Linked DNA regions of Homo sapiens: region 1 is linked to region 2. Evidence: promoter capture Hi-C in human tissues and cell types (Jung and others, 2019). All regions are on one chromosome and are shown on one strand. Each heading gives the region's core, a stretch centred on a gene start or on the middle of the fragment in contact. The rest is flanking DNA. Distances are from core to core; before and after follow the strand shown. Region 1 has its middle 230 kb from the start of UGT8. Region 2 holds the start of ARSJ (arylsulfatase family member J).

What was found. Contacts are between HindIII fragments. The study calls those that stand out against the background at their distance.
Region 1: a contact is called between a fragment that was not itself captured here and the fragment with the promoter of ARSJ in region 2, in 3 of the 25 tissues and cell types used here (H1 embryonic stem cells, lymphoblastoid cells and mesenchymal stem cells).

The regions. Positions count from the first base shown.
Region 1 is chr4:114,365,278-114,368,235 of GRCh38, reverse strand. No RefSeq gene overlaps it. Among named protein-coding and RNA genes, the nearest start is that of UGT8, 230 kb to the left of the region's middle. The HindIII fragment of the contact is 4,665 bases long and covers 1-2,958 here.
Region 2 is chr4:113,978,381-113,981,211 of GRCh38, reverse strand. It overlaps ARSJ (arylsulfatase family member J), which reads left to right and starts at 1,565. Exons shown (of 2, transcript NM_024590.4): 1 at 1,565-2,775. The coding sequence starts at 2,378. It overlaps LOC107986305 (a long non-coding RNA gene), which reads right to left and starts at 1,399. Exons shown (of 2, transcript XR_001741794.2): 1 at 1,226-1,399; 2 at 1-842. It overlaps LOC124900762 (a long non-coding RNA gene), which reads left to right. Exons shown (of 3, transcript XR_007058237.1): 3 at 248-317. The HindIII fragment of the contact is 13,267 bases long and covers 1-2,831 here.

The sequences.
Region 1 (2,958 bases), core at 220-2,719, 390 kb before region 2:
CCTGTAGTCCAAGATACTCTGGAGACTGAGGCAGGAGAATCGCTTGAACCCGGGAGGCGGAGGTTGCTGTGAGCTGAGATTACGCCACTACACTCCAGCCTGGGCAACAGAGGGAGACTCCATTTAAAAAAAAAAAAAAAAAAAAAAAAAAAAACTATGATTTTCCTTTTCTCTTCTTTTTCCTCTATTGCTAAGGTACACAGTGAAATGTAAGCCATTATTGTAACATTTGGTAATGGCATATCCCAATATTTAGCTAGTATAGGGAAGGAAACAATTTCGTTCCCTTTCCTATTAAGATTCTTAGTTCAGACATGTTCCTGAAAATAAAAGTCAGATTAACAAAAGAAAAATAAGCATAAGCTTATTAACATGTGCTGTTCTATCACACAGGAGAGGCCTCAGTTCAAAAGTATTTCTCTCTCAAAGCTGTGGCTCAGGGACCTTGCTTGAATTTAATAGTATTTTAACAAAGAGCCATAAATCCTATGTAGAGAAAAAAGAGAGAGAAGTTTCAGTCTTTTAAATGGTGGGAAAATGTGGGGAGATAGTAAAATCCATTCCCAAGTTCCTCTGGTGTCTGCTGGTGCCTTCCCTGGGCTGATAAGCAAGTGCTGTCTCCAATAAGCAAGGACTGATGTCCTGTCATCAGGCAGAGAGAGCTGAGGCAGAGTCTTGCCCTTTGTTTTCAGTCTCTTTAACATAACAATCTTCAATATTTTTTCCTTTACTAACCAAAATGAAAGATAATTTAGTGAACACAACTGCATGCTTTTTGTTTTCATCATGTTTCTCTGACTTAAAATACAACGCATTCAATCTTAATTCAGTCCCCACGTGTACCTAAGTCATGACCATACCTGTGAGAAAAGGAAATCCAATTGCTTATTCTCTCCATGTGCTGCGATATTATTTCTTGGTGTTACAGACTTTTAGAGAATGATAACTTACAATTTAGGAAGTAACGCATAATGAAACAAAAGTGCATACCCCTCCCTTGCCAGGGGATAGGAGAGCACAGAGACCTACATTTGCTCACAGAAGCCTCAAGATAGTTTCATAAATTAGAGATCCTTGCACTAAGTTCAGGCCTGCTTGGTGAATTCCTAATGGATATTAAATTTAAATACCTCCCAACTTCTCAGCATGTGGCCATCAGGACAAACATAAGATCTCTGTTATTATTTCTTTTCTCTTTCCCAGATAATTACACTTTAAAAATGTAATCAAGATTAGGACTTGCCTTCATTTGGGCAGTAATGTGACTTAGTTAAATAGAAAATCTTAGTACAATTATTTAAAACATGGTCTGGGTATCTGAAGACAATAAATCTAACTGATCTGAGGCAACATTATTAATATAATGGACACTGGACATAAAAGGTTCTAGTTTGAGTGCCAACCTATTCCAGCCACAGGGGAGTTGAGATGTTTTTGAAGTCTCACAGTAAGCAAAATGCCACCAACACTTTGCAGAATTTTAGAGAGTGGTTGAAAAAGATAAACATACTAGAGGTTTAGCTATGGATTAGTTGTGACTTGGACCTTGTGTGCAACTAATCAGCAATCAGAAATTTAAGATTTCTGACAATATTTGGAAACAGTGCCATGTGATAATCACTAAGTGGAATTATAGGCATGTATCAGAGGCAGTGGCCAAGCTGTTGAATTTTATGGTAAACATGCATTCTTGATTTCCTGACTCAGTCCTCTGCTGCCGTATATGAATCTGTAATGGTCAGATCATGTTTCCTTAATAATTTTTGGAAGTTTAATTAACCAAAATACCATAACTTTAACGTCTCAAATAGAGGACATAGGACTATCATTGACAAATAACCTTAAATATTGTGCATTTAATATTTAATATATGGTTTATAAGGCTTGTATGGATGAGTTACTTGTATATGGTAAAGAACATATAGCGAACCCATCCCTGCAACTCACAATTACTGCTGCTGCTGATAGGTAATGGGGGGAGGAAAAAAAGAGATAGCTTAAGGAAGCTACCTCAGGTAAATTTGTGGCAGAAGCTCTCTCAGACTGTTTAACGAGTTCACATCACTTCATGACAATGCTTGAGATGTTGCTAAGTAAAGCTTCATTGGGAAAAAATAATAATAGGAAATCTTAGAAGAAAAAAGGGCCAGTACAATAAACTAGTAAAAAATTACTTCAACTAGATAGTTCTGTACAAAGACCTTGACCATATCTTACTGTGGCACCAATGGAATTGTTGAATATAAAGGGTGAGAAGTTAGTTGGAAAACTATTTTTCAGCAGGAGCATTTTATTTATTCTGTAGTTCAGAACAGGTAGGTTCAGGGGTATCACTTAGAAGAAATCCACCAGGAGTTGCTGTAGGAATGCTTTGTGTATAAGAAATCTGTTATTTAGCAGGCTTGGAGACACTTTAAGTAAGCTAAGGGAATCAAAGGATAGCAGGGAACAAATTGTCTTGTTCTATAAATGTCCCACATTTAAGCACCTTAATCACTTAGCCTTAAAAAAAAAAAAAAGCATGACTTATTTATTGGGAGAAGAGCAGGCCAATTTCCAGGATTCCCCTTATACCATAATTTAAACATGTAAAAGTCATAAATTAGAAAAACAAATTATTAAGTCGAATATCCTTCTCTGGACAAATGTATCTTCATAATTACAAAATTAAACATATGTATAAAATTATTATTTTTATAATATTAAACATTGGCACAAAAATCAAAGACAACTAAATTGCCCACCTTTTGATATTCTATTGATGGAGCAGCAGTATTTGGATGAGTAATAAATGAAACATTCACAATTTATAAGTCATTTTATATTTACCCTATCAAATTTATTTCTTGTCTTACATACAGGAAGTCAATATTCTGTAATAATCAACATTTTGAGGTAACTTGTTGCCCCTGTGGTAGGCAGGATTTGAAGATGGCCCCCTAAGATTCTTAGCCCTTA
Region 2 (2,831 bases), core at 316-2,815:
GGATACTTCTTGTGCTATGTCACAAGAAGTCACTATCTCCCCAAATAAAAGGCTAGATTGACCAGAATGTTTGCATCTTTCCCATTCAAGCACCTGGCTAGGCCCATTAAGCCTAGGGCCCTACCTCTCAATGCTTTTCAATCCCCTGACACTCAGTACTCTCATTACATATTTGGTGACTTAATTTACAGAATTGCTAAACTCACATTTCTGAACATGGCTTCTAAAACTGACTATCTCTCCCCAGCTTAGCCAGAAGGGCTGCAAGGAAGAACAGAGACCAGAAGGCCTACAGCAGCTAGCAAGGTTAACTTCATGGAGCACCATCGTGCCTTTCAAAGTTCCCATTTCACAAAGTTTTGCCTGGGAACTCAGCAGGAACTTTAGCAACAGGAGAGAATTAGAAATAAATGGCTAAATGAAACCTAGATTTATGTTTCAGTCAATTGAGAGAATCTGACATGTTATGTGCCAGCCCACAGTAGGTATTCAGTAAGTAACTGTTGAATAAATTTGGTGGTAGAAAAAAATATCTCAGTGGCTCTTGGCATTCATTGCCTCTTCTATAGAGACTATACTATACATCCCTCTGCTGCCTTTGAGCAGGACTTTAAAACTCTATGACTCTAGTAAAATCAAGAGTATTTTCACAACCAAGATAAGTTTTTACAATGGTTTTCCTCCACATGGTAAAAAAGAAAGAAGGAAAAAAAATGATGAAGCTCCCTGAATTACTGGATGGGAAACACTGGCTTCTTTAATGCAGGAATGCAGACTGGCTTCGGGGTTCTTGAAGGAGAAATGCATAACTCTTCCTCTCCAGGCTTTTGGCTGGAGACACCCTGTGGGTAAGTTAGGGGAGAGGTAAGAGGGAGCGGGCAATTCCAGTATTTTCACATAGGGAAAGGGTAACGAAGAATCAGGCTGTAAAAGCCAGCTATTGGGAGAGGAAATAAAACTTAAAAATTTGTCATCGTTACTGAAAAAAAAAAAAAAAAAGGTAGGGACAAAAGGAATAGGAAAATGATGGGGGTGGGGGGACTAGTAAAGGAAAACCTGCAAAGGAAGTTGGAAAGAGGAAAGAGTGTCATACGCATTTTGTTTTTATTCCTGCTCCTTCTCTCTCACTCCCTCCAGAAGCTAGAAAAAGTTTGCAAGCGCAACTTTAGGGATGGGAGACGGGGCTCTTCACCAACAGCCCCACGAAAAGAAGTGCCCGCTTTACCCTTCCCCATTCGCGCCGCCGTCCTTTCCCTCTAGCGGGGTGATGGGCAGGAGGCGACACTCTTGGGACGCGGTAGCCCAGGCGGATCCCCCGGAATCCCGCTGGGCTGGAGCAGCACGCAGCTCTCTCTCTGGCAAAGCCTCCTCTGCCTTGGCCATCCACCTCCCGGAAAAGAAAAAGGAAAGATCGAGCCTCTAAACAGTCCTTTTCCCCCACCCCCTCTTCCCGGGGGAGCTCAGGAAGAAAGTACCGTTCTGTGATTCACTGGAGAGAAAAGAGGGAGGAGGCAAAAGAACTCGGAGTGCCAAAGCTAAATAAGTTAGCTGAGAAAACGCACGCAGTTTGCAGCGCCTGCGCCGGGTGCGCCAACTACGCAAAGACCAAGCGGGCTCCGCGCGGACCGGCCGCGGGGCTAGGGACCCGGCTTTGGCCTTCAGGCTCCCTAGCAGCGGGGAAAAGGAATTGCTGCCCGGAGTTTCTGCGGAGGTGGAGGGAGATCAGGAAACGGCTTCTTCCTCACTTCGCCGCCTGGTGAGTGTCGGGGAGATTGGCAAACGCCTAGGAAAGGACTGGGGAAAATAGCCCTGGGAAAGTGGAGAAGGTGATCAGGAGGCCGGTCCACTACGGCAGTTTATCTGTCTGATCAGAGCCAGACGCGACGCGTCCACTTCGCAGTTCTTTCCAGGTGTGGGGACCGCAGGACAGACGGCCGATCCCGCCGCCCTCCGTACCAGCACTCCCAGGAGAGTCAGCCTCGCTCCCCAACGTCGAGGGCGCTCTGGCCACGAAAAGTTCCTGTCCACTGTGATTCTCAATTCCTTGCTTGGTTTTTTTCTCCAGAGAACTTTTGGGTGGAGATATTAACTTTTTTCTTTTTTTTTTCCTTGGTGGAAGCTGCTCTAGGGAGGGGGGAGGAGGAGGAGAAAGTGAAATGTGCTGGAGAAGAGCGAGCCCTCCTTGTTCTTCCGGAGTCCCATCCATTAAGCCATCACTTCTGGAAGATTAAAGTTGTCGGACATGGTGACAGCTGAGAGGAGAGGAGGATTTCTTGCCAGGTGGAGAGTCTTCACCGTCTGTTGGGTGCATGTGTGCGCCCGCAGCGGCGCGGGGCGCGTGGTTCTCCGCGTGGAGTCTCACCTGGGACCTGAGTGAATGGCTCCCAGGGGCTGTGCGGGGCATCCGCCTCCGCCTTCTCCACAGGCCTGTGTCTGTCCTGGAAAGATGCTAGCAATGGGGGCGCTGGCAGGATTCTGGATCCTCTGCCTCCTCACTTATGGTTACCTGTCCTGGGGCCAGGCCTTAGAAGAGGAGGAAGAAGGGGCCTTACTAGCTCAAGCTGGAGAGAAACTAGAGCCCAGCACAACTTCCACCTCCCAGCCCCATCTCATTTTCATCCTAGCGGATGATCAGGGATTTAGAGATGTGGGTTACCACGGATCTGAGATTAAAACACCTACTCTTGACAAGCTCGCTGCCGAAGGAGTTAAACTGGAGAACTACTATGTCCAGCCTATTTGCACACCATCCAGGAGTCAGTTTATTACTGGAAAGTAAGTGTTCCTACTTCTTATATTTATTCCTTGGAGAAATCTTAAGCATTTAATGA